5 separate regions of the Homo sapiens genome follow, and regions 1, 3, 4 and 5 are each linked to region 2. The links are contacts of gene promoters, found by promoter capture Hi-C in blood cells and fetal thymus (Javierre and others, 2016). All regions are on one chromosome and are shown on one strand. The core of a region is centred on a gene start or on the middle of the fragment in contact, and the rest is flanking DNA. Distances in the headings are between cores, read along the strand shown. Region 1 holds the start of ZNF846 (zinc finger protein 846). Region 2 holds the start of CNN1 (calponin 1). Region 3 holds the start of MAN2B1 (mannosidase alpha class 2B member 1). Region 4 holds the start of RNASEH2A (ribonuclease H2 subunit A). Region 5 holds the start of MAST1 (microtubule associated serine/threonine kinase 1).

Region 1 (5,255 bases), core at 1,927-4,426, 1.8 Mb before region 2:
GCTGGGGAGGCTGAGGAAACAGAATAGCATGAACCCAGGTGGCAGAGTTTGCAGTGAGCCGAGATTGCACCACTGCACTCCAGCCTGGGTGACAGAGCAAGACTCCATCTCAAAACAAACAAACAAACAAACAAATAAAGCATTTCCATACCCTGCATTGCAGACATAGTCTTTTCCATGGCATGCCTCCCAATTGTAATACTATTCTGACACTTAATACTCTAATTGTCCAGGGGGTGGCTCATGCCTGTAATCCTAACCCTTTGGGAGGTTGAAGTAGAAGGATGCTTGAGGCCAGGAGTTAGAGACCATCCTGGGCAATATAGTGAGACCAAGTCTCTTTATTAAATAAATAAATAAACAAATAAATATACATATATATATATACACATATATGAAAACAAAGAATAAAAGAAAAAATACTCTAGTTGACTTTGCCTAGCAACTATCAGACAGTAAGAATACTTTTGTGTCTGGCTTCTTTCAGTCAGCATTATGCTGGTGAGGTGCACCCAAGTTGTTGTGTTCATCCACCTGTGATTTGGTTCATATCTTTGCTGAAGAATATGCCACAGAGGCTGGGCATGGTGGCTCACGCCTGTAATCCCGGCACTTTGGGAGGCCGAGGTGGGCAGATCGCTTGAGGTCAGCAGTTCAAGATCAGCCTGGTCAACATGGTGAAACCCCATCTCTACTAAAAATACAAAGAAAAATGGGTGGCTCACACCTGTAATCCCAGCTACTCGGGAGGCTAAGGCAAGAGAATCACTTGAACCAGGAAGACAGAAATTACAGTGAGCCAAGATTGCGCCACTGCACTCCAGCCTGGTGACAGAGCAAGACTCTGTCACAAAAAAAAAAAAAAAAAGCCACAGAAATATGCCACAATTCACCCATTCTGTGGATCCACATTTGGGTTGTTCCTAATTTAGGCTATTTCAAATAATGTGATAAATAACTTTTACATTTAGCCTGGCACACGTATGCATGTTGCATCACCAAGTCCATATTTAGTTGTCACTGTTTTAAAATGTAGCTGGGCATGGTGGCTCACGCCTGTAATCCCAGCACTTTGGGAGGCCGAGGTGAGTGGATCACAAGGTCAAGAGATGGAGACCATCCTGGCCAACATGGTGAAACCCATCCTGGCCAACATGGTGAAACCCCATCTCTACTAAAAATACAAAAATTAGCTGGGCATGGTGGCATGCACCTGTAGTTCCAGCTACTCGGGAGGCCAAGGCAGGAGAAGCACTTGAACCCGGGAGGTGGAGGTTGCAGTGAGCCGAGATCATGCCACTGCACTCCAGCCTGGCAACAGAGCAAGACTCTGTCTCAAAAAAAAAAAAAAAAAAGTGTTCTCTTCAGCAATGCATGCACATCTTAAAGAAGACTTGATATTGTCACTGACTTTAGTTATGCTTTTATTTATTTATTTTTTTTTTTGTAGAGATGGGGTCTCACTATGTTGTCCCAGCTTGTCTCAAACTCATAGCTTCAGTGGCTCCTCCTGCTTCTGCTTCCCAAAGTGCTGGGATTACAGGGGTGAGCCACTGTGCCCGGCCTAGTTTTATTTATTTATTTATTTATTTAGACGGTGTTTTGCTCTTGTTGCCCAGGCTGTAGTGCATTGCCACGATCTCAGCTCACCACAACCTCTGCCTCCCGGGTTCAAGCGATTCTCCTGCCTCAGCCTCCCGAGTAGCTAAGATTACAGGCATGCCCCACCACACCTGGCTAATTTTGTATTTTTAGTAGAGACAGGGTTTCTCCATGTTGGTCGGGCTGGTCTGGAACTCCCAACCTCAGGTGAACCGCCCACCTCGGCCTCCCAAAGTGCCAGGATTACAGGTGTTTAAGTTACCGCACCCGGCCAATACACATTGATCTACACAAGAGATGCAAAGAAACAGAAAACATGCAAAATATTAACAAATGATCAGTCTACAACAAGGATATATAATAGGTGTTCAATATTCTGGCCTTTCACATTTTCTTTGGTTTAGAATATTCAATCTACAGATAGCCTGGGCAACAAACCAAGACCCTGTCTTTAAAACGTAAATAAATAAATAAAAATATATGAGGGGGAAGGCCAGGCGCGGTGGCTTATACCTGTAATTCCAGCACTTTGGGAGTCCGAGGAGGGTGGATCACGAGGTCAGGAGTTCGAGACCAGCCCAACCAACATGGTGAAACCCCGTCTCTACTAAAAATGCAAAATTAGCCGGGCGTGGTGGCACATGCCTGTAATCCCAGTTACTCAGCATGCTGAGGCAGGAGAATCGCTTGGACCGGGAGACAGAGTTTACAGTGAGCCTATATCACGCCATTGCACTCCAGCCTGGGCAATAAGAGCGAAACTCCGTCTCAAAATATGTATATATACGAGAGGAAAAACGCTGAATCAAAACATGTCTCTTTCACAGTTAATACAACTGTAATTTCTGATACTGGTATAATGAAGGCGGCATCCTACTTCCTGGAAGCCCCTCCGTTTTGAAGCTCTTTGGGAGGTACTGACCTAGGAAGTTCAGCTGCTTTTGATCTCAAAAACACAGCGGAGTATTGCTACTTTGCTTTATAACTGTGGCAATATTTGCTTTTATTTCTATAAACCTACAACTCCTGCACACTTGACAAAGCATTTAACTGCTGAGCAATTTCGCAAACTTCAATAAGCGATGCCCTCCCACAGCCAGATCATCTCCTCCGTCCAGGGCTCACCGGAACGCACTGCAATCGCCCTGTCGGTGACAAGAGGACGCTGGGGCCCTTTTCCACAACAGCTGAGATGCTTTTCCTTCTGGAGAAAGGACACAAAGGTTGACTGGCTGCTTTTAAACAGAGGGGCACGGTGGTTGGAGAAAAAAACACGTCTCCACCGGGGACCCTGGGCCAGGCCCAGACTGATGCGGGCGCAGCGGGAAGAGGCGCTCAGAAGAGAAGGCGGGAACCCCCCGCCTCGGGGTCCTGGCGGGGAGGAGGCGCCGCTTCTCCGGAGCAGCAGCGGGAGGCCGGCGCGTCTCAGACCTAGCAGAAGTCCGGAGCGTCACCCTCCGACCCTCGCTCCGCCTCCCGCTAGGCCCTCCTGCCCCGCCCTGCCTAGGTTGAGCATGAGCGCTGGCTGAGGTGAAAACCCAGCTAGGAAGCTGCTGGAGAGCGGGGAATACGTATAGCTGCGCGCCGGCTGGCACTTCCGCTTCCGGTTGCGCACGGCATTAAGTGTAGGGGCCGAGCCCCAAGAGCTTTGGAATGAGGATGATGTGAAGCTGAGAGAAGAGCTGGGGCCACCTCTTCGACACGCGTACAGAAAAGTCCCGTTTTCTCGCATCCCAGGTGGACCAGGATCCAGATCAATCTGTCGATATTGGGAACGACGCCGGACCAGGAAACCCAGCGCCAAGGGCCGGGTTGGAGGCGGGGACTGGCGCAGCGGGCGGGGCACGCGTGGAGGCGTCACCTAAGGCTTCGATTGCAGACAGCGGGATGCTCATCGAGTGCTTTTCTTTTCTTTTTTAATTTCTCTTTTTAGTTTTTTGAGATAAGGCTCCGGTCTGTCGCCTAGGCTGGAGTGCAGTGGCTCGGTCATAGATCATTGCAGCCTGGAATTCCTGCGCTGAAGCTATCCTCCCGCCTCGGCCTCCGGAGTAGCTTGGACCACAGTTGGGCCCATCACGCCCAGCTAAGTTATCTTTTTCTAGACACTTGGGTCTCACTGTGTTCCCTAGGCTGGTCTCGAACTCCTGAGCCTAAAGGATCCTCCCCCCTCGGCCTCCCAAGCAGCTTGGACCACAGGTGTGTGCCACCACGCCTGGCTAATTTATTTTTATTTTATTTTTATTTTTTTGTAGAGACAGGGTCTCTCTTTGTTACCCAGGCTGATCTGGAACTCCTGGGCTCCAGTGATCCTTCCACCTTGGCCTCCCAAAGTGCTGGGATTATAGGCGTGAGCCACCACCCTAGGGAAATTCTTTTCTGCAGGATTTTCTCCTTGTTTCTTCAACCCTCTGCAGGGATATAAACATATTTACAAAGATAATCCCGCTGTAGTCCTAGCTACTGCGGGAGAATCGCTTGAGCCCAGGAGTTCGAGACCAGCGACACCCTGTTTGAAAGATTAACCTGATGGGGCTGGGGGCAGTGGCTCACGCCTGTAATCCCAGCACTTTGGGAAGCCGAGGCGGGTGGAACACGTGAGTTCAGGAGTTCGAGACCAGCCTGGCCAACATGCCGAAACCCCATCTCTACTAAAAATATTTTTTAAAAAATAGCCGGGTGTGGTGGTGGGCGCCTGTAATCCCAGCTACTCGAGAGGCTGAGGCAGGAGAATTGCTTGAACCTAGGAGACTGAGGTTGCAGTGAGCTGATACGATGCCACAGTACTCCAGCCTGGGCGACAGAGTGAGACTCCGTCTCAAAAAAAAAAAAAAAAAGATTAACCTGTTAATCCATAAAATGCTCTGTGCCTCTGATACATTCAGTTCCTTCTTTAGGCCTTTAGTTTTGTTGTGATACAATTATCATAGCATACAATTAACCTGTTTAAAGTGTACAGTTTCGTGGCTTTTTGTATATTCATATATTTGTGCATCGATCATCACAATCAATTTTAGAACATTTTCATGACCACAAAAATAAACCCAGTACCCTAGCCATGATCACCCAATCTGCTCATCCAGCCCCACCCCCACCCCCAGAGTCCAAAGCAACAGCTAATCTTTCTGTCTGTATAGATTGCCTACTGTAGATATTGCCTGTAGAATTAGAATATAAAACACGTGGTGTTTGGCTTGTTTCATTCAATGTTTTCAAGGTTCATCCAATTAGCATGTATCAGTACTTAATTTTTTTTTACTAAATAAGATTCCATTGTATGGCTGTATCATAACATCAGTTGTTGGATATTGGGTTTTCTCTTTTTTTTTTTTTTTTGGCTTTTTTGGATAATACAAGACGCATTTTAAGCAGTGGTCAAAGGAACATTCATATTCCTAAACACTTTTGTCAATAAAAATAAGAATAGCTGGGTGCAGTGGCTCACACCTGTAATCCCAGCATTTTGGGAGGCCGAGGCAGGCGGATCACCTGAGGACAGGAGTTTAAGACCAGCCTGGCCAACATGGTGAAACACGGTCTCTACTAAAAAATACAAAAACCAGCAGGGCGTGGTGGTGCGCACCTGTAATCCCAGCTTCTCGGGAGGCTGAGGCAGGAGAATCACTTGAACCTGGGAGGCGGAGGTTGCAGTGAGC
Region 2 (5,262 bases), core at 2,314-4,813:
TGCAGTGGTGTGATCTTGGCTCACTGCAACCTCTGCCTGACATGCCGGGTTCAAGCAATTCTCCTGCCTCAGCCTCCCGAGTAGCTGGGATTACAGGCATGTACCACCATGCCCGGCTAATTTTGTATTTTTAGTAGACACGGGGTTTCACCATGTTGGTCAGGCTGGTCTTGAACTACTGACCTCAGGTGATCCACCCGCCTTGGCCTCTCAAAGTGCTGGGATTACAGGCGTGAGAAACCACGCCCGGCCAAGTGTGAGTTTTAAATGGTTCTGAGCATCAGGAAGGTTTTAGGGGGTCCCCTGAAGTTGAGGAGAGGCATGGCTTTCCTACAATGACTGTCCTAGACCCTTCGGGAAACCGTGCCTCTTACAAGATCCTACACTTCTCATTTAGATGGTAAACTGAGGCACAGAGGGGCTAGAGCCTGGAAAATGCCAGAAAGGAGCGAATAAGGGATGACACTCGGGTGTCTACTGGGATTGGGGCCTCGATATGGGATCAGCCCCCTCTAATGCCTCTACCCCCATCTACCAGACAGAGACGCGAAGAGAGACGGACAATACAGCGACAGCGACATGAAGAGAAACAGAATGACTCAAAGACCAGGCACAGAAACAGAGACACAGAGACAAAGGCAGAGACAGAAAAAGGCTCAGCGACCCAGAGACGGAGATACAGAGACACAGACCTACTACAATCAGAGGGACAAGGCAGTCCCCGAAAGGGCTGCCCCCTGGGGGTACCCGGGGCTGCCCCGTTGGGGGGCACGCCAAGAGCTCCCCCACCCCGCCCCCGTCGTGCCTGGGCCGTGACTTCAGAGTCCGTGCAGATTCTATAAATGGCCAAGAGGCCGCGGGCCGGGGGGCGGGGCCGAGTGAGTCATCGCGTGACGTCACCGCCGCCTGGACCTCGCCAGGTCCCGCCCCCGCCCCTCCCGGGCCGCCAGGGGGCGCCGGCTGCAGGTCCTCACATGCGCAGTAGCGAACTGCGGCCCCCGAGGGCCGCTCAGTTTGGGAGGGATCCAGGAATCTGCGCGTTCGAATCCCGCCCCTGCCACCCTCGAGCTGTGTGACCCGGCCATTCGGCGTCACCTCTCTGTGCCTCGTATAGACCCACCTCATAAGGCTGTCGTGAGGAATGAGTTAACAGGCTCAAAGCTCTTAGTACGTAGCAGGTGCTAATTGTTAGCTCATTTTATGTACTTTCTATTTTTTCTTTTTTTTTTTTTTAAATAGAGACGGGGTCTCGCTATGTTGCCTAAGCTGGTCTCGGGTCTCGAACTCCAGGGCTCAAGCGATCCTCCCGCCTTGGCCTCGTATTTTATGTATTTTCGTGTATGTTCAACATATCATGACATGCCATCAACTAGCACATTGCCTTAGCTCAGTGGTTGGCAAACAGGGGTGATCTGCTTCCACCCCGACCCCAATCATGGGACATTGGCAATGTGTGTAGACATTTCTTCTTTTAATTTTTCTTTTTTAGAGACCATGGTCTTGCTATCTTGGCCAGATGGTTCTCAAACTCCTGGGCTCAAGGGATCCTCCCACCTCAGCCTCCTTAGTAGCTGGGACTACAGGGTCCTGCCGCAGTGCCTCAACATTTCTGTTTATTAGGACTAAGAGAGTGCTACTGGCATGTAGCAGGTAGAGGCCAGGCATGCTGCTTGAAGTCTTACAATGAATGCCCAAGGCAGCCCCCCAACCATGAAGAATTATCCAGCCTCAGCTGTCAACAGTGTGGAGGTTGAGAAACCCCACCTTAGCCTCATAGTTGAGGTTCATGGAGCATGGTCTCAAATTCTCCTCTGCCCCTGGCCTGCTGTGTGACGCTGAAAAAGTGATTCCAAGCCCCCGTGCCTCAGTTTCCCCACCTGTAAAGCAAAGTACTTGTATTAATAATAACAGTGTCAGCTGGGCACGGTGGCTCACGCCTGTAATCCCAGCACTTTGCAAGGCCGAGGTGGGCAGATCAACTGAGGTCAGGAGTTCGAGACCAGCCTGGCTAACATGGCAAAACCCCGTCTCTACTAAAAATACAAAAAATAGCCAGTCGTGGTGGCAGACACCTGTCATCCCAGCTACTTGGGAGGCTGAGGCAGGAGAATCGCTTGAACCCAGGAGGTGGAGGTTGCAGTGAGCCGAGATAGCATCACTGCACTCCAGCCTGGGGAATAGAGACTCTGTCTCCAAATAATAATAATAATAATAATAATAATAATAATAACAGTGTCCATCTCTGAGGGCGTCATGAGAATTGAATGGATATATGTACAGAGTTGGAACATGGCCTGACATAAGGGCTGTAGTCTGTGGCATATTGCAGCCATGCCATTAGCATGTGACCGATAAACTGCATATCCTCAACATATCATTAGTGTGTGGCAGGTTGCAGACATGTCATCCAAGTGTCACAAACATGGCCTTGCCATGTGGGGCATGATGTGGGCATAGCATCCACCCCTGTGGTCCAGGGGTGAGATCTGGCTGGGTAGGGCTGTTTGACAGGGACACAGTTCACGGCCTGGGACTTGCCAACAAAGTCACCCTGTAGTTCAGGTGACACACAAGTGGATGGGGAGGGTGAGACCCAGGATCTCTTCTCCCCCAGGTCCTTATGAGGGGCTGGAGGAGACAGAACTGGGGTGCTGGACCCTCAGCATAAAGAATGCTATAGGCTGGGCATGGTGACTCATGCCTGTAAATCCCAGCGTTTTGGGAGGCCAAGGCGGGCAGATTGCTTGAGCCCAGAAATTTGAGACCAGCCTGGGCAACATAGCGAGACCCCGGGCAACATAGCGAGACCCCATCTCTAAAAAAATAAAATAAAATTAGCCAGGTTGGTGGCACAAGTCTGCAATTCTAACTACTTGGATGGGCTGAGATGGGAGGATCACTTGAGCCTGGGAGGTCAAGGCTGCAGTGAGCTGTGATTGTGCCACTGCACTCCAGCCGAGGGGACAGAGTGAAACCTTGCCTTAAAAAGACTGCTATGGCCCGAGTCCCTCTGCTGTGCCGGGCACTGTGCTGGGCATGTAACAGGCATATTCTTCTGATCTTTACAACTCTCCCATGAGGCAGGCACTATCGTTAGCCCATTTTACAGATGTGGCCATAGAGGCCCAGAGAGGAGAAGGGGCTTACCTAAGGCTATAGACTGTTGGTATCTGGAGATAAACCCGGGATGGTGCTCACTAAACTACCTTGGGTGTCAGTCCTGCTTCAAGACTCCAGAGAGATAAAGAGAGATGACCTCAGAGACAAAGAGACTCAGACCCAGCCAGAGGCCCAATGGACAGTGGGAGGGGTGGGTGGAAGAAGGCTGGTCTCTGTCTGACCAAGCCCCCCCAGAATAACGCAGGCTGCCCCCCTAGGTGGAAACAATGACACAATCAGCTCCCAATACCAAGGGCCTGACATCACAAGGGGAGGGGAAGGCAGCTGAGGTTGTGGGGGGAGGTGCCCCGCCCCTTGGCAGGCCCCTACAGCCAATGGAACGGCCCTGGAAGAGACCCGGGTCGCCTCCGGAGCTTCAAAAACATGTGAGGAGGGAAGAGTGTGCAGACGGAACTTCAGCCGCTGCCTCTGTTCTCAGCGTCAGTGCCGCCACTGCCCCCGCCAGAGCCCACCGGCCAGCATGTCCTCTGCTCACTTCAACCGAGGCCCTGCCTACGGGCTGTCAGCCGAGGTTAAGAACAAGGTAGGGCTGGAGGGCCTCCCTGGCCTGGCCCACACGTCCTGCCAGGCCAGAGCCCTGAGCTTGGGGTCCCTTGAACCCCCTCCTGCCTATCCTATGTGACTTGGAAACTGAGAGGGGAAAAGGGAGTGATATGGGATAGGGGCTGCCTGTCTCCCCCTGAACATCCCGGAGCCCCCAGCTATGGTTGGGGCTGGAATGGGGGGGCACACAGCCACACATAAACAGAGGGGGTCAGTCCATTGCAAAGATACCCACCTGATCAGTCTTCTGTTAACCCTTCGTGTTCTTGGGGGGAACAACATAGGGGGAAGACTTGTTGATTTTTCCATATCCCCCGGCCTGACAAAGAAATTGGGGAGCGCTTGAGTGCTGGGGTACCTGGGAAGTGACGCCGTGAAAGTGTGGGAGATCCTGAAGACAGAGGGGGACGGTGAAAGGCAGGAAGCGGGCATCAGAAGTGCGGCAGGGGTCTCCTGACTGTGGAGCTAGGAAGATACCTGGACACCACCTTCATGCTATGGTTGGGTAAACTGAGGTTCGGAGAGGAGAGGCAAATAGCTGGGGTCCCAGGTAAAGCAGGTACAGCGCTCGGACCCTGGACTCACCCCCCATACACCAGGATGGGCTCAGCTTCTCCCAGCTGGAGAACTTTAAGTTTCCAGCCCACTGGAATCGCCCCAACAGTATTGCCGAGGGAGGAGTTCCTGCCCCATTTGACAGAGGGGAACACTGAGGCTCAGGGTGGCTTTTCCCAGGGTCCCATGGTGAGGAAGTGGGGGACTGGGTTGGAACCTGGGTCGAGGGATCTCGGGGCTGGAGGAGGGGGCTGGTGGGGGGCGGGTCCTCGGGCGAGAGACAGATCCCAGCGCCGCCCTCCTCCCCCCCAGCGCCGGCCCCAGAGCCGCGCAGAGCCGCGCAGAGACGCCGCGCCTTATAAGGCGGCCTCGGGGAGCCCGGGCCACGCTATATAAGGGCCGGTTTGCTTTATAAAGCCGGGCTGGTGGCGTGGGGGGCGGCAGGGCCAGGGCCAGGTGAGGGGGCCGCCCCTCCCACCTCCCCCCACTCACCCGGGAGAAGAAGAGGCAGCCCGGTCCCCTAGGGGCTGGGAGCCTGGCTGGGCTTGGGCGGAGGGTTCTGGAGAAATGGGAGTGGAGTGGGGGAGGGGGGGGACAGTGGAGAGAGGGAAAAGCAGGGAGGTGGGGGGAGAGGCAGACAGAGATACTGGGAGCCTGAGACACCCTAGGGACAGACGGGGGAGGGCGAGCCAGGAGCGAGATAAGACCTAGACAAGGATGGAGGGGCAGGGAGAGGAGACAGAGCCCCACCACCCCCACCCCAGGCAGGAAACCTGGAGACAGAGAAAGACCTAGAGAGGCAGATATACAAGACCCAGGAGCCCTACCCCTGGCCAGACAGGGACTAGCCACCTAGAGAGATGGGGACCCAAGACTGGGCCAAGAAAAGACAGCGCTGGGGAAGAGAGAGACAGAGGAGTCGGGGGGATAAGAGGGAGAGAGACATACAGACGTGCAAGGGGTGGGGGCTAAGACAGAGACAAG
Region 3 (5,371 bases), core at 2,710-5,209, 1.1 Mb after region 2:
CAAAAATTAGCTGGGTGTGGTGGCAGGTGCCTCTAATCCCAGCTTCTTAGGAGGCTGAGGCAGGAGAATCGCTTGAACCCGGGAGGCGGAGGTTGCAGTGAGCTGAGATCATGCCACTGCACTCCAGCCTGGGTGACAGAGCAAGACTCTGTCTCAAAAAAAAAAAAATAATAATAAATAAATAAAAATGTTAAAAATAGAGGCCAGGTGCGGTGGCTCATGCCTGTAATCCCGGCACTTTGGGAGGCCGAGGCAAGCAGATCACTTGAGCTCAGGAGTTTGAGACCAGCCTGGACAACATGATGAGACCCCAGTGCAAAAATACAAAAATTAGCTGGATGTGCTTGTTTGAACCCAGGAGGCAGAGGTTGCAGTGAGCCGAGATCGCACCACTGCACTCCAGCCTGGGTGACAGAGTAAGACTGTCTCAAAAAAATTAAAAATAAGGAGAACGTGTTAGGGGATGCCTGTACCATGGAAAGAGCTCATTGTATTGTATATACCGGACTCGAAGGTTCTGGACACCAGGGTTACCTGGGCAGTGGCCACATTTAGGAAGTAATCGACCAGCTCCTTGGCGTTGTACTCGGGGCTGCGAGGGTCCTCCACCAGCGGCTGATCGACACACAGCACATCCCAGCACAGATTCCTTGGCGGGTTGTAACCATTGGGAAGCACACCTGCAGGTCACACCAAGTTCAAGGGGTGGCCCATCACCCAGACCTTCCCTGGTTTCAAAGCCGGCCATGTCCCACCCAGGATGGGCTTCAGAATTTGTGTCCCAATGCAAAAGGAAATGCAGGGCCTTTGTTCCCAGACTATAGGAATTCCAGGACAGTGACAACAGAGCAGATATCAAGCCCAGGGCCCTTCTGAGTGTGTGGCACCATGGCTGGCCCTGCCCTCACCAAGCCCCCTACCAGTGAAGAGGTCCGCGGTCGGGGGCTTCAGGCTGGTGCTGGCCCGCCACACCTGCTCCATCTCCAGCTTCTGCATCCGTACCCACTTATCTTGATAATCAAGGCGCCCAAAGAAGAAGCCGTCGAAGCCCATCTGGGGATGAGGGAGGAAAAGGCAGTGTGAATTAGTGCCCAGCCCTCTCACCACCAAACTCCCCTCTGCTTGGGAGGGGCAGGTCAGAGCACAGGTTAAAAAGCAGTGCTAGGTCGATGTGGTGGCTCTTGCCTATGATCCCAGCCTTCTGGGAGGCCAAAACAGGAGGATCACTTAAACCCAGGAGTTTTTGAGACCAGCCTGCACAACACGGGCAGACTGTCTACAAAAAATTTAAAAATTAGCCAGGCGTAGTGGTGCGCTCTTGTAGTCTCATCTACTAGGGGGGCTGAGACAGGAGAATCGCTTGAATCCGGGAGATTGAGGCTATAGTGAGTTAGGATTGCACCACTGCACTCCAGCCTGGATGACAGCAAGACCCTGTCTCAAAAAACAAAAACAAAAACACGTAGGGCTGAAACAGAGAGGCCTCCAGCTTATTTCCAAGCTTGGGGAAGTTTCAGAACTCACCACCTTGGGCTAGCAGGGAGAGGGCGGGTCCAACATCAGAACCCAGGTTCACCTCCCCAGCACTGTCAAAGCGCAGAGCAGGCCTGACTCCAGGAATGAGGTTCCCCCTTCCACAGCCTGAGGATGGATGGGGTCTGAGCACAGGTAATGAACCTGTTTTTAAGGCAGCCTAGGCATCCACTTGCCACCCGGTTTAGGGAGGAGCCAGGACCCGAGCTAGTGGGTGGGGCCAGAACACCAAGAGGGGCCTATTAGGGGAGAGGGCGGAGCCAGCCGGAGCTGGGTCAGCCTGGGCTGGGCATAGCCGGCTGAGGCCAGAGCTCAAAAGCCACTGGCTTTACGGCTCACTCAAGGGGCAGGGCTTCAACAGGCCTAGGCCTGGGCCTGGTCCTTGTGAGATTGCAGGGAGAGGGCGGGGTTTGACTGGGCGAGGGAGGAGCCAGAGTGAGTGAAGAAGTGGGCCCAAGAGAGGTCCCGGGTCGCACCTGCGCAAACAGCGAGGCCTGCTCCCGAGAGTGGCCGAAGGGGTCAATGTGCCAGGCCACACGGGGTCGCCCATCATTGCCAAATGTGTCCTCCAGAAAGCGCAGCCCAAGTGTCATCTGGTCCACGATGGCACCGTAGTGGGTGGCTGCCTCATCGTTCATCACCCAGCCACCATTGGCGAACTCCAGGCGCCCTGTGCCAGGACAGGCAAGGTCAGGGTCAGCGGTCAGAGCCAGGAGTGGGAGTAGGGTGGGTGATACTGGGAATGTGAAAGCCTGCCTGTGTACACATTTCTGGCGGAAGGACAAGAGGGGTCGCTCCCAGGCCATAGTTCCCAGATATGGGAAAGAGGCCCCCTGCATGGCAGGCTTCCCAGAGGATGCACAGCAGGTGGGGCTTTGTGGGATGTATAGGAGGTCTCCAAATGGAGAGTCCAGGCAGGCGGAGCGACACGCATGTTATACAGCTTGCACGTGGCATGACAAATCTCAGAAACCAGAGATGCAGAAGCAGAAGCTGGGCTGGGCTTCCTCTTTTCACTTCCTTGGGGTAGGCTCACCCTGGCGCACAAGGTCTCGCACGACTTCCTGTGTGGCATTTGTCTGCTGGTGCCACCAACGGGAGAAGAAGGCAATCTCCACGTAAATGAAGCGACGGGTGGGATCTGCCAGCAAGGCAGAGATGACCGAGTCCAGGATGTACTGCACACCGGCGTGCTGGATGTCATTCTTGACTGTGGATAACAGGGATAAGGCTCTCAGGGAACAGCAGAGCCAAGGGGGTTATTCCTAGACAGAGGAGCCCAAACCCTGGATATTAGGGTAGCACTGGCCCCACCCTAATGTCCAGGACCCAGAGGGATTACAGGGACCATGGGGATCCCAGGGACCAGTCCCCATCCTCTACTCACTTCCATAAAAGTACTGGTCCACGGTTTTGAGCCAGCCCACGTCATCATGTGTGTGAGGCAGCAGGTGCACGTTCAGCATGTTCGGCTGCACTGTGGGGCATGTCTGCACAGGGACCCCAAACACACATACCTTGTCAATAACCCCCGAGGTCGGGGGCTGCAGAGTAAGTCTTGATCTAGAGGTGAGTGACTCAGAGAGGCCTGATCTCGCCTATGTGCAGAGGAGGCCAGGCCCTCCCAGGCAGGACACACACATACATAGTTGTGCTCATAGATACAACTCCACTTTGCACAACCCCACAGGGCAGCTCTCATTCACACTCCGGGAAAATAATAATAGAAGTAGCTGATGTTTGTTCAGCATTTGCCGACAGCAGACGGCCACCGTGGGAGGTGGGGTGATGTTATCCCCAGTTTCCAGATGAAGGCACTGAGGCTTAGAGAGGATAGGTGACTTGCCCAACGTCACACACTCAGGAAGTGTAAGAGCTAGGCTGGAATTTCAGGCAGACTCCAGAGTCCCAGCTCTCAGCCAGCACCTCCCCCCACACATACACTGCTCACCCCCTGCCACCTCCTGCCCCTCCAATCCCACAGTTAAGTGCAGACAAAGTCTAGGCAAGCATCCCGGAGACACGGAGGCAGGTACAATCAGACACAGTCCTATACTCAGATGCGCACAGCCAGACCTCGCAATGACACAAAGCACGCACTCAGACCACACTGTCATATCATCAGCCATTCACTAGACACCCACAGGACAGACCCACCCACACCTCTAGACTGTATTCTGGGTTTCACTCTGCCTCCTGTACGTTTCAGCTCGGAGGCCCCACTCACCTCGTATCCCCCGGCCCGAGCACCGGCAGCCGCCAGCAACAAAAGGAAAAAGCAGAGAGGCGGGAGCGGTGGCCGCAGGGCGCGGGACATGGTCCAGGGGCCTGCTGAGTCCAGGCAGCCGCGAGCGCAGACCCCCGAAGCCCGCGCGTAGGCGCCCATGGCTCAGCAGCTTCCTCCTGGGGTTCCCCGGCCCTGGAAAGGCCGGGCAAACGCCCCGCCCCCAGACCCGGCCGGGCCAATCGGGGTGGGGGGCGGGGCCAGGGCGCGGTCTGGAGGCTCACGGGAGAGAGGCTGTAGCCCTGGGCAATCCCGGGGGTCGTTACAGGAAGGTAGGAAAATGCCACCCTCAGGGCACTGGTTGGGCTAAAGGTGACACTGGCGTCTCACGGGCTATGAAGACGGAATGCCTCTTAATGCCGGAATTCCAAGACGGAATGCCTCTTAATGCCGGTAGGAGCAGAAGTGCTTTTCCTAAGGGGGCCGGGTTTTCCTAGCCGGTGTAGTGTGTCCATGGGAATCCAGGGTGTCCGTCCCATGGACCTTCAGCGCTAGGGTCCTGGAAGGACCTAGCTTGCCTAAGAGGAGGATCTGATGAAGAGTCCTATACTGTGGGGATTGGGACGTTGGGTAAATACCCCTGGAGTACCAGGGATGGGATCCAGCCTGGTTGAGAAGGATCCCTGGGTGTTCCGGAGAGAAAAGAGGGTCTGACAAGTGGGGAAGGACCCCGAGTCTTTCATGCCTTTCCCAATTCCTACCAGTTCATTCTCTGATAAGAAAACAAAGCCCAGGGCAGGCGCAGTGGCTCAAGCCTGCAATCCCAGCACTTTGGGAGGGCCAGGCTGGTGAATCACTTGGGCCTGGGAGTTTGAGACCAGCCTGGGCAACATGGGTTGTTTTGTAGAGACGGGTTTGAAAACACAAAATTTGTAATTTTACACAAAATGTAAAAATACAAAAATTAGCTGGGCATGGTGGCACATGCCTGTAATCCCAGCTACTTGGGAGACTGAGGCAGGAGAATCACTTGAACCTGGGAGGCGGAGGTTGCAGTGAGCCGAGATCAAGATCATGCCATTGCCCTCCAGCCTGGGCAACAAGAGCAAAACTCTGTCTCAAAAAAAACAAGAATTAACTGGGCATGGTAGCACGCATTTGTGGTCCCAGTTACGTGGCAGGCTGAGGTGGGAGGATTGCTTGAGCCCAGGAGTTTGAGGCTGCAGTGAACATAGATTGTGCCACTGCACTCAGCCTGCATGACAGATCAAGACCATTTTCTTTCTTAAAAAGGAAAAAAAAAAAAGGAAACCAAAGCCTAGATTATCTAGGTCAGCAGGGCCATCTGGTGAGTTGCCAGAGGGCAGAAGTCACTGTCTTGTCCCTAGCACCTGACTTAAGACACAAGGTTTATGAAGTAAGCAAATGAACAGCCAGAAGCCTCCAGACTGGGGCCCCACACCAGGCCTATGGGGCTAGAGCCCTTCCCGCCAGGTAGGAGGAACACCCCACTGAACAGAAGAGGCTGACAGCCAGAGTGAAAAACTTTATTAACAACAGGTTTCAACGAGAAAGCAAATGAATACCCCTAGAAACATGGACAGCATCTCCCCC
Region 4 (5,504 bases), core at 2,102-4,601, 1.3 Mb after region 2:
TAACAGAGCAAGATCTTGTCTCAAAATAAATAAATTAAATAAATAAACAAACTGATCATAATAAATTGGTTTGTATATGCTAGCACAGCACCGGGAGATTTACTTACCTTCATTATGTCAATTATGCCATTTATCACTTGACAACCCTGCTGTCAGGTGGCATTGTGCCTTCTAGGTAGGGCCATGGTCACACCCCTGAAGACAGAAGTCAGCTTCAAATGGCGGGCACCAAGGATGTTGTAGGACACTCACAACTGGGCAGGCTGGCACAGCCTGGAAGTGTCAGGTTGTAGTTCCTCTGGCCCACTTACCCCGTATATGAGCTTGGAAGGTTGGCTTGCTGTCTCTGGGTCTTGGTTTCCCCACCTGAGACTCGTGGAAATATTAAATGAGGCCAGGCATGGTGGCTGGCTCACACCTGTAATCCCAGCACTTTGGGAGGCTGAGATGGGAGTATCACTTGAGCCCAGGAGTTCCAGACCAGCCTGGGCAACATGGTGAAACACCGTCTCTGCAAAAAATACAAAAAATTAGCCAGGCACAGTGGCATGTGCCTGTAGTCCCAGCTACTTGGTAGGCCGAGGTAGGAGGATTGCTTGAGCCCAGGAGGTTGAGGCTGCAGTGAGCTGTGACTGCGCCACTGCACTCCAGCCTGGGCGACAGAGCGAGACCCTGTCTCAAAAAAAAAAAAAAAAAAAAAAAAAAAGCTTAAATGAGATAATCTGTGGCAGGGTGTCTGGCATAGAAGCAGAGTCTAGCGAATATGTGCTTCTCTTATTCGTTAGTATCTTTATCTTTCTCCCTCTCTGGGGGAGGGGATTGGGAGTAGGCCCCCTCCACGTAGGTCTTCACCTCTGCCCTCCTTCTCTAGAAGTCGAGGACTCAATCCTTGGCCCGTGGGGAAAGTGGCGGTGTCTCTGCGACCTGGGCAAGCAGGAGCGCAGCCGCGAGGTAGTGGGCACAGCGCCGGGCCCGGTTTTCATGGACCCGGAGAAGCTGATCCAGTTACGGCCCTGCCGGCAACGGGATTGTCCATCCTGCAAGCCCTTCGACTGCGACTGGAGGCTCTGAGCCCGGGTGAGAGAGCAGGGCCGGGGCAAGTTGCGGGGCCCAGGGTGGGCGCGGAGGGAGGATGTGCGGTGCGGGGCGGGTATGAAGCGAGTTTGAGGAAGGGAGAACTGGGGCTCCAAGTCTTGAGTGACTTGAGGCTGATTTGGTTAGGGGGAAGCTGAGTCAGGAGCCGTGAGCCCCGCTGATATCTAGGGAGAAAAGGAGAAAAGTGGAGGGGGCGCCGGGCGCCGGGGCTCACGCCTGTAATTCCAGCATTTTGGGAGGCCGAGGCAGGCGGATCTCTTGAGTCCTGGAGTTCAAGATTAGTCTGGGCAATATCGTTGAGATCACCTCTCCATAAAAATTTTTAAAATTAGGCCGGGCGCGGTGGCTCACGCCCGCAATCCCAGCACTTTGGGAGGCCAAGGCAGGCGGATCACAAGGTCAGGAGATCGAGACCATCCTGGCTAAAACGGTGAAACCCCGTCTCTACTAAAAATATAAAAAATTAGCTGGGCGCGGTGGCGGGCGCCTGTAGTCCCAGCTACTCGGGAGGCTGAGGCAGGAGAATGGCATGAACCCGGGAGGCGGAGCCTGCAGTGAGCCGAGATCGCGCCACTGCACTCCAGCCTGGGCGACAGAGCGAGACTCTGTCTCAAAAAAAACCAACCAAACAAACAAACAAACAAAAACATTTAAGTTAGATGAGCGTGGCGGCACATGCCTGTGGTCCCAGCTACTCGGTACGATGGGGAGGAAGGATCGCTTGAGCCTGGGAGGCAAAGGTTACAATAAGCCGAGATCGCTACACTGCTATCCAGCCTGGGCAACAGAGTAACATCCTGTCTCAAAAAAAAAAAAAAAAAAAAAAAAAAAAAAAAAGTGGAGGGGGAGGCGAAGAGGAGTAAAAGGAGATAAAGAGACAATGAACTAGGACCCTGAGGAAGGGGCATGAGCCTGGTAAGGGGCGGGAACCCACAGGCAGAGGACATGAGCCCCAGTGAGCCCAGGGAATAGAAGTGGTGGATGCCAGGCACTGTGGCTGGCTCAGGCTTGTAATCCCAACACTTTGGGAGGCTGAGGCGACCGGATCGCTTGAGCCCAGGAGTTTGAAGCCAGCCTGGGCAACATAATGAGACCCCGTCTCTACAAAAAATACCAAAAATAGTCGGGCATGGTGGTGTGGTGTGCACCTGTAGTCCAGCTGCTTGGGAGACTGAGGTGGGAGGATCGCGTCAGCCCAGGAGGTGGAGGTTGCAGTGAGCCAAGATCGCGCCACTGCACTCCAGCCTGGACAACAGAGAGAGACCCTGTCTAAAAAAAAAAGAAGGCCGGGTGCGGTGGCTCACGCCTGCAATCCCAACACTTTGGGAGGCCGAGGCGGGCGGATCACAAGGTCAGGAAATCGAGACCAACCTGGCTAACACGGTGAAACCCCATCTCTACTAAAAAGTACAAAAAATTAGCCGGGTGTGGTGGCGGGCGCCTGTAGTCCCAGCTATTCGGGAGACTGAGGCAGGAGAATGGCGTGAACCCGGGACGCGGAGCTTGCAGTGAGCGGAGATGGCGCCATTGCACTCCAGCCTGGGCGACAAGAGCGAGACTCTGTCTCAAAAAAAAAAAAAAGAAAAAAAAAAAGTGGGTCGAGGGGTGGGGGTGGGGACATTCATTCTAAGTTGGGAGGAATGAGCTTCTATAGGGAGCAGAGACCCTGAGCAGGAGTCCACCGAGGTCTGTGATCTCCAACGGGGGTGGGGAAGGCTTGGCCTGAATGAGACAGAGGTTAGGAAGCACAGATCTTGCACGGAGTGGAGGTGGGCCGAAGGGAGCAACCAAGAGAGGGAGTTTGGGGACTCCAAATCCAAAAGCCTGGGTTTAGTGGAAGCGGGGCTACCTGGTCCAGGGGACTTAGAATGTGTACAGAAGCAGGGACCGCAAGTACAGGGCCTGAATCCAAGTGGCAGTTGGGGACCCAGTGATGCGGTGACCCGTGTCCTGGGAGTGGGGTGATATTTGACTCTCTAGTTCCCCGTTAGGCTGGGTCTTCGAAGCTACGTCTCAGTTTCCCTCTTATTTCCCCCTCTTCCCACCGGGCCACGCAGGCGGGGCCCCAGAGACCGTGAAGCAGAGCTTGCAAAGTGACCCCGTCCACCGAATTCCCCAAGCTGAGTGTTCGGCCATAGCCCTTCGGGACTACAATTCCCAGGAGGGCGCACGGCAGCGACGTCGGCGTCGGCTGCGTAAGCGTCCACGGCGGCGGGAGCGCCAGGGGCGTGTTCTGCCCGCGGATTGGCCGGAAGCAGGCGCCGCTTCGAGGCCCGCGGAAAACGCGCGCCGAGACCCGCTCCTGCAGTATTAGTTCTTGCAGCTGGTGGTGGCGGCTGAGGCGGCATGGATCTCAGCGAGCTGGAGAGAGACAATACAGGCCGCTGTCGCCTGAGTTCGCCTGTGCCCGCGGTGTGCCGCAAGGAGCCTTGCGTCCTGGGCGTCGATGAGGCGGGCAGGGGCCCCGTGCTGGGTGCGCCCCTAGGGCCAGGGAGGGGAGGGGCGTGGTACGGAGGATGCGGGAAACGGGAGTCGGGATTGCACTGCACCAAGGGAGGGGATGTGGTCGTGGTGATGGCACCTAAAGAAGCAGTGATGATAGAACAGGGATGAATGGCAACTTTCACGGGCTCAGTGATTGGACCCCGGCTGCCAGAAAACTGACACCCCTTCTCCCCAGGCCCCATGGTCTACGCCATCTGTTATTGTCCCCTGCCTCGCCTGGCAGATCTGGAGGCGCTGAAAGTGGCAGGTGAGCCCGAGGTGTGCGTCTGGGGAAGGGATTCCTGGGTATGTGCAGGGGCAGGTGAGAACTGAAAGGGGAGGGCAGGAACTGGGAGAACCAGCTGTTCCCCTTCTCTTCCAAACCTCCTCCCAGACTCAAAGACCCTATTGGAGAGCGAGCGGGAAAGGCTGTTTGCGAAAATGGAGGACACGGACTTTGTCGGCTGGGCGCTGGATGTGCTGTCTCCAAACCTCATCTCTACCAGCATGCTTGGGCGGTGAGGGGTCCCCGGGAGGGGCAGCCAGCATGGGCTGACCAAGCTTTGTTCCTAGAATGAGATTAACTGGGCTCTGTTCCCCACCACAGGGTCAAATACAACCTGAACTCCCTGTCACATGATACAGCCACTGGGCTTATACAGTATGCATTGGACCAGGGCGTGAACGTCACCCAGGTGAGTTAACTGTAAGTTGTCCCCATTTGGTCATCTCAGGATAAAATGGGGACAAAACAGGAGTTCGAGACTGCAGTGAGCCATGATCATGCCACAGCACTCCATCCTGGGTGACAAAGGAAGCCCCCCAACTCAAAAATGGAGGCAGGGCGCAGTGGCTCACGCCTATAATCGCAGCACTTTGGGAAGCCGCGGCGGGTAGATCACCGGAGGTCAAGAGTTCGAGACCAGCCTGACCAACATGGTGAAACCCCGTCTCTACTAAAAATACAAAAATTAGCTGGACGTGGTGGCAGGCGCCTGTAATCCTAGCTACTCAGGAGGCTGAGACAGGAGAATCGCTTGAACCCAGGAGGCAGAAGTTGCAGTGAGCCAAGATTGTGCCATTGCACTCCAACCCGGGCAACAGAGCAAGACCCTGTCTCAAAAAAATAAAAAATAAAAAATAAACTAAAAATGGGAGACCAGGCGCAGTGGCTCACGGCTGTAATCCCAGCGTTTCAGGAGGCTGAGGCAGGCAGATCACCTGAGGTCAGGAGTTGAAGACCATCCTGGCCAACATGGTGAAACCTCATCTCTACTGAAAATACAAAAAATTAGCCCAGCATGGTGGCGGGTGCCTGTAATCCCACCTATTGGTGAGGCCGAGGCAGAAGAATTGCTCGAACCCGGGAGGCGGAGGTTGCAGTGAGGTGAGATCGCGCCATTGCACTCCAGCCTGGGGGACAGAGCGAAAAATAAAAATAAAAATAAAATAAAAAATAAATGTGGGCAAAAATGTGCAGTGTGCAGATTCAGCATCAGATACGTCTGGAGTGCCTCGGGCATATTCATTGCTACTGTTGATTTCGTGCTCCTGTTTCTGCCCTAAATGTGTGCCACACTGACGACCACAGTGTAGCCCCTAGTCCCGTCTCCATCTAATCTCTCCCTCATCCTAAAGGCTCAGTCTCCAGAACAAATCCTACATTGTCTACCTGTCACCTCTGTCCTAGCCCAGGACACCCCCCACTCCCTGGACACCTGCTGAGTGTCGTCTCTCGTCCCTCACCCTCCTATCCCCTCCAATCTGTTCCCCAAGCAGCAACAGAAGGTAGTCTTTTTGAAATGCACATCTCGACATTTAGTTTTCCGATCACAGTGGAAATTAAATCAGGAAAATTCACAGTCGAGTGGGGCAGAATTACATTAAATTACCAGAGAAAAACATAAATCAGCATTGCCTCGAAT
Region 5 (5,554 bases), core at 59-2,558, 1.3 Mb after region 2:
GTGTCTTACTCCAGCAGTGGTGCAATCATAGTTCACTATAACCTCGACCTCCTGAGCTCAAGAGATTCTCCCACCTCAGCCTCCGTGGTTCCCATTTTAAATCTCAGTTGTGAGTCACTCTACTTACCTACCCCCCACCCCCTACCCCAACTCTATGACTCTAGCTGGGAGTCAGATAGATCTGCTGAGGTGTAGATGAGTCATTCATTCTTTCAACCTTTCATTCATTCAACCTTTCATTCATTCATTGAGTACGCTAAGCTTATTCCCGCCTCCAGGCCTTTGCCCTTGCAGTTCCCTCCACCTGGAATGCTCTCTCCACAGATCCTCCCATGGCTGGCTCTTATCTTTCAGCAACCAGCTTAAAAGTCACCTCCACAGAGCAGCCCTGTCTGACAATGTGTCTCCATCCTAGCCATTGTCCATCACATCACCCTGTTTAATTTATTCATAAGACTAATTATTGTCTAAAATGATTTCGTTCACTTCTACACTAATCTTGTTTAATGTCCCCTTTACCCTATAAATACTAGTCCCAAAAGGCCAGAAACTTTTTTTTTTTTCTCCTTGAGACAGAGAGTCTTGCTGTGTTGCCCACGCTGGTGTTTCCTTGGACTCAAGCGATTCTCCTGCCTCAACCTCCCAAGTAGCTGGGACTAGAGGTGCACACCACCACACCGGACTTGTAATTTATTCACTACTGTGTCCCTAGTGCCTAGGATTGGGTCAGCATACAGTAGGTGCTCAAGACATATTTTTCAAATAATGATTCCTATTTCATTTGCACAAACACACGCTGATATGCCAACTCACTTGCCTTTATATGGCGCCCCGCCTGTGTACGTGGGCCTCTGTTGGTCTCTGAGGGTCAGGAGAGGAATCACCCAGGGATCCTCTCCCCCAAGAAACTTGGCCCGCAGTGCATGGCCAAGGGTGAAAGTGACAGTGCTGAAGAGGGGCCTGTCTTACCCTGCTTCTGCTCCTCCAGGGAGTTGATAATGCTTGTGGGCAGCAACGGCAGGTCCACGCTGACCTTCATCGTTTTGCCCCTTTGCCTTCCAGAAGGATTTGCCCCTGCCCCGGAAAAGCAGCAGGTGAGCCTGGGGAGAGACGTGGCGGGGGCTGGCCGCCCCTTCTCCCGCCGGGGTGGGGGCGCCAGGCGAGTGCGCGGGCGGGGCCTGGCTCGCCGGCACGCAGCAGCGCCCCCTCCCGGCCGGCTGCAGCCGCAGGGCCCTCCCCTTCCCTGCCCTCCCCTGCCCGCTGCGGCGGCTGCAGCCTCCGCCCCGCGCGCTTGCTCCCCGCGCCGCCGCCGCCGCCGCCTCCGCCGCTGCTGCCGCACCTGCCACCATGTCGCCGCCGCCGGGTCATGTCTGACTCTCTCTGGACCGCGCTTTCTAATTTCTCGATGCCCTCCTTCCCCGGCGGCAGTATGTTCCGCCGCACCAAGAGGTAGACCCCCGATCCCCTAGACATTGTCCCGGCCCTCCCCGCAAAAGCCGCCGCTCCGGGTACTGCTGCAGGGCGGGGCCCGGGATGCTGCGCCCGGTCCAGCTGCGCCAGAGGTGCCCCAGCTGCGCCTTCCCGCCGGGGTTGGGGTTGAATGGGGGGTGGTGTGGGCCGAGTCTGGGGGGCTTGCACGCTGGAGAGGACGGCCGCGGGGGGAGGGGGCTGCGCCACTGGGGGTTTGTGGCGCCTTTGTCTGCTGGCGCTGCGGGCTCCAACAGCCTGGTGGGGGTAGAGGAAGAAGGGGAGGCTGGGGGGCTTGGCACCCTCAGAACAATAGCCGCAGCCTGGCCTCCCCCCACCCCCATGCCGCGTGCTCCTGGACGCGCTAATATGCTCAGTCACTGCGGCTGTGGGTGAGGGGACGGACGGAGGGGCTTGGGGCTCCCTCTTCGGGAGCTGGATGCTGAGGGGTAGAAAAAAGGGGGGGTTTATCATAACACAACCCCCCCCCCCGAACACAGCCTTACACTGAAAATAGTGACACACAGCGTCACACAGGACATGATGTCACACACATACACACAACAGCCCTAGTGGCCCAGATACACTGGGAGGTGCCACACATACCTAGCCTTGCAGCTGCCACAGGTCAGAACCATGCACAGACACACAGGGGCACCACGTCGTGTACACCTAGTAAGATGTCACTTACATGGCGATCCACACACACACAGTTATGTCATCCAAGATGCAAACATGTGTTTCAATATCCCATCCATGCATCCAAGAATGTCACAACACACGATGTCATATCTAGGTATCTCACATACTATGTCACACTGACATCAGGATAAACAGATGTAGGGATCTTGCAGAGACAGAACCACGCAAAATCACATGTTATCACATTGCAAGACTCACCTAGAGAATGTCAAATGTGGTGACATGTTTGGACACAGTGTCACAAGATGTTAAATTCACACAATAGATGCTACATACACATGGACAAGCATGGTGAATGTCACACCCAGACGGAAGGACAGTATCGGACACAGACTCAGAATGCCACACAAAGACATAGATACATGTAGGGGGGATCATGCATCCTGGCCAGGCATGGTGGCAGGCACCTGTAGTCCCAGCTACTCAGGAGGGTGAGGTGAGGCGGGAGGATTGCTTGAGCCCAGGAGTTTGAGGCTGCAGTGAGCCACTGCACACTGCACTCCAGCCGGGCGACAGAGCGAGACATTGATTTAAAAGAAAAAAAATAATAATAATACAACCTGCCTGTGTTACAGCACACATTGTTATGGACAAGTGGCATTTCACACTGTGTCACATAGACACACAAATGCTCAAATTGTATCACACAAGATAAACCCACGTTGTGTCACACGTATCACACTAGAATGCATTCAGCGTCACACATTGTTGAATTCATACAGTGGATACCACACGTGGATACCTACAGTGAATGTCACGCATAGACTGAGACACGCTCAGTATCACCAATGGTGTCACCTAGACACAGTGACTATCACACCATGACAGACACTGCCCTACACATAATCCATACTGAGAGTTTCTCACACACATGTCATATGCACATCCCCTGCCGTACACAGTCCTGCCGAGGCCTGCACCACCTTTCTTCGAGAAACCCTCCCAGGGAGCCTCCAAACACACATGGATGGGAGATAGGCGGGGATCTGAGACAGGAGGTCAGCTGGTGGGGCTCAAGAACTCACTGGGCTGCGGCCCGGCCCGGCCCCCCTGCCTTACCTTCCCCGCAGCTGCCGCACCAGTAATCGGAAAAGCCTCATCCTGACCAGCACTTCACCCACGCTACCGAGACCCCACTCCCCGCTGCCAGGTCACCTAGGTGAGGCCAGTGGTAGAGACTTGGTGGGTGCAGACTGGCCTACAGTAGGCGGGGCCTCAGGCGAGGAAGCGTGGTCATGCTACAGAAGGGGCGCAGTTTGAATGGAGGCGAACCAGTTTGGATAAGGGGCGGGGCCATGCTTGTGTGGGTGTGGTCAGTCGCAGAGGGACGGTCATTGGGGGGCGGAGACTCAGGTGGGCGGAGACTCAGGTGGGACGGACAGAAAGGAGGAGTCGTACCTGAGGGGCGGGGCCATCCCAGATGAAGCCAGAATCGTCTTGGAAGGGGCCAGGCTGACTCGGCAACGAAAAAATTTAGAGAGGCGGGGCCACAGGCGAAGGGGCGTGGTCTCCCCATAATAGGCGGGACTAGACTAAAGACAGGACATGCTGCTGTTTGCACGCCGCTTTAGGGAACGAGAGACCTGACAGGATTTGCCCCCTCTTTCTCTCATAGGCAGCAGTCCCCTGGACAGCCCCCGAAACTTCTCCCCCAACACCCCCGCCCACTTCTCGTTTGCCTCCTCCCGAAGGTGAGTCCCTCCCCTCCAGGGCCCCAGAACCCTGGGCAGACCCTCCCCAACCACTGTCTGGGCCGCCATCTGTTCTCCTCCTAATTGCACCCGAGCTGGGGCCTGAGGGGACCAGCGAGTGCCCCAAGGTCTCAGCGGGAAGGAGCGCCTAGCCTTCGGGGCGGGGCCTATAAGAAGGCGGGGTCCAATCGCCGATCTGGAACGGGGAAGGCGGTGGGGCTCCCTTTGCGGCAGGTCGAAAGCGCGTGCGCCCTGGGCGCGGGGTCTTAGTCTCTCCGAGCCTTGCTCTCCTGGCCAGGTGTTTCCATAGCAACAGGACGGGGCAGCCAAGATGACGTGCGCAAGCGCAGATTGCGCGATGCCTATCGAGGGACTCTTGGTCCCCGAGGTGGGGGAGGACGACTAGGGCTGTTTCTCAAGGGGAGGAATCTCAGGTTTCTTTCCAAGGGTCTCTTAGGGTTTCTGGGGTGTCCTTAAATGAATTTTCTATGGGCCTTTGGTGAAACTGGGGGAGGCAGAGAGGTTTCTCTGATGTTTTCTGGAGAAACGTTTCTGGGAGTTTGGGCCTGTCTCTTTTTCTTTGAACTCTATTCATTCTAAAAATGGTGTCTAAACACCTGCTATGTTCTTAGGAGCTGGGCGTATGGGGTCAATGACGTCCTGTCTCTACCCTCTGAGTCGAATAGGGCAGGCAGGCCAGAGAATGGGGATCAGTGCAAAGGCTGATGAAGGCTGTGTTGTGAGAGTCAAAGGAGACTGTGAAGACAGACAGCTCCCTTGGGAAAGTGGGGGAACCGCCTATTGACCATGGAATTTAGCTGAGGGCAATAGAGAGCCAGGACAAGGCTCTGGGATAGGGTCTCACATGTTTATCCGCAAGCGGGGAGGACTGAGCGAGGGGACTGCTGGGAGGAAGAAGGAAGGGAGGAGTCCAATAAATGGGGTGTGTGTGTGTCCTTGTAACTGTGCAAAGTGTGCTGGTGTGTGTGTGTGATTGTCACTGTGTGAGGGATTACGTGCCTATGCAATGGCACGAGTCTGCGAATGTGAACGTGTGAACATGTGTCTGTAGGATTGTAAGTGTCTGTGAATATGTGAGAGGAGCAAGTCAGGTATGTCTCCAGGTGAGCGTGCAATCTGTGTGTGGGTGTAAGCGTGTGTGAGTGTGTGGCTGTGAGATAGTAAACACAGAGTCACAGTGTTTACTGTCTCTCTCTCTCTCTCTCTTTTTTTTTTCTTTTCTTGAGACAGAGTCTCGCTCTGTTGCCCAGGCTGGAGTGCAATGGCGGGATCTCGGCTCACTGCAATTTCCGCCTTCTGGGTTCAAGCGATTCTCCTGCCTCAGCTTCCCAAGTAGCTGGGATTACAGGCGCCTGCCACCACGCCCGGCTAATTTTTGTATTTTTAGTAGAGATGGGGTTTCACCAGGTTGGTCATGCTGGTCTCGAACTTCTGACCTCAGGTGATCCACCCGCCTCGGCCTCCCAAAATGCTAGGATTACAGGCATGAGCCACCGCGCCCGTCCAGTTTACTGTCTCACAGCCACACGCTTACACATGCACATGCTAATGTGTGTTGTGCACTCACATGAGCACGCGCCGATGTGTGTCCCTGTGTGTGTGCATCTGCGTGCGAGTGTGAATGAGTGTGTCGCTGTGTGCAAGTTTCAATGTGTGGTAGTGAGCGTGGGTGT

What was found. Contacts are between HindIII fragments. The CHiCAGO score rates a contact against its expected background, and 5 or more counts as called.
Region 1: the fragment with the promoter of ZNF846 here is called in contact with the fragment with the promoter of CNN1 in region 2 in 1 of 17 cell types (neutrophils); the score reaches 5.0 in neutrophils.
Region 3: a contact is called between the fragment with the promoter of MAN2B1 here and the fragment with the promoter of CNN1 in region 2, in 2 of 17 cell types (erythroblasts and monocytes). The highest score is 7.4, in erythroblasts.
Region 4: the fragment with the promoter of RNASEH2A here is called in contact with the fragment with the promoter of CNN1 in region 2 in 2 of 17 cell types (non-activated CD4 T cells and fetal thymus); the score reaches 10.2 in non-activated CD4 T cells.
Region 5: a contact is called between the fragment with the promoter of MAST1 here and the fragment with the promoter of CNN1 in region 2, in 2 of 17 cell types (activated CD4 T cells and non-activated CD4 T cells). The highest score is 6.2, in activated CD4 T cells.

What each region holds. Positions count from the first base shown.
Region 1 is chr19:9,765,562-9,770,816 of GRCh38, forward strand. ZNF846 (zinc finger protein 846) reads right to left here and starts at 3,177. Exons shown (of 6, transcript NM_001077624.3): 1 at 2,728-3,177. RefSeq lists a silencer at 2,992-3,161 and enhancers at 3,105-3,970, 3,242-3,461. The HindIII fragment of the contact is 9,482 bases long and covers 1-5,255 here.
Region 2 is chr19:11,535,288-11,540,549 of GRCh38, forward strand. It overlaps CNN1 (calponin 1), which reads left to right and starts at 3,564. Exons shown (of 7, transcript NM_001299.6): 1 at 3,564-3,703. The coding sequence starts at 3,641. RefSeq lists silencers at 662-731, 742-1,111, 4,540-4,589 and an enhancer at 2,535-3,480. The HindIII fragment of the contact is 23,519 bases long and covers 1-5,262 here.
Region 3 is chr19:12,662,783-12,668,153 of GRCh38, forward strand. It overlaps MAN2B1 (mannosidase alpha class 2B member 1), which reads right to left and starts at 3,960. Exons shown (of 24, transcript NM_000528.4): 1 at 3,761-3,960; 2 at 2,921-3,023; 3 at 2,570-2,743; 4 at 2,010-2,203; 5 at 921-1,053; 6 at 535-680. The coding sequence starts at 3,919. It overlaps WDR83 (WD repeat domain 83), which reads left to right and starts at 4,025. Exons shown (of 11, transcript NM_001099737.3): 1 at 4,025-4,210. It overlaps WDR83OS (WD repeat domain 83 opposite strand), which reads right to left. Exons shown (of 4, transcript NM_016145.4): 4 at 5,291-5,371. RefSeq lists enhancers at 1,630-2,578, 2,579-3,526, 3,183-3,232, 3,293-3,422, 3,443-3,572 and 2 more and a silencer at 3,823-4,102. The HindIII fragment of the contact is 17,009 bases long and covers 1,500-5,371 here.
Region 4 is chr19:12,803,233-12,808,736 of GRCh38, forward strand. RNASEH2A (ribonuclease H2 subunit A) reads left to right here and starts at 3,352. Exons shown (of 8, transcript NM_006397.3): 1 at 3,352-3,568; 2 at 3,776-3,847; 3 at 3,974-4,097; 4 at 4,187-4,274. The coding sequence starts at 3,442. It overlaps THSD8 (thrombospondin type 1 domain containing 8), which reads left to right. Exons shown (of 2, transcript NM_001386800.1): 2 at 872-1,157. The coding sequence ends at 1,071. RefSeq lists a cis regulatory region at 2,599-3,631 and enhancers at 3,076-3,205, 3,406-3,455. The HindIII fragment of the contact is 3,433 bases long and covers 706-4,138 here.
Region 5 is chr19:12,837,207-12,842,760 of GRCh38, forward strand. MAST1 (microtubule associated serine/threonine kinase 1) reads left to right here and starts at 1,309. Exons shown (of 26, transcript NM_014975.3): 1 at 1,309-1,449; 2 at 3,240-3,328; 3 at 3,785-3,860. The coding sequence starts at 1,367. RefSeq lists silencers at 922-1,105, 1,110-1,289, 1,340-1,389 and an enhancer at 3,296-3,355. The HindIII fragment of the contact is 9,607 bases long and covers 260-5,554 here.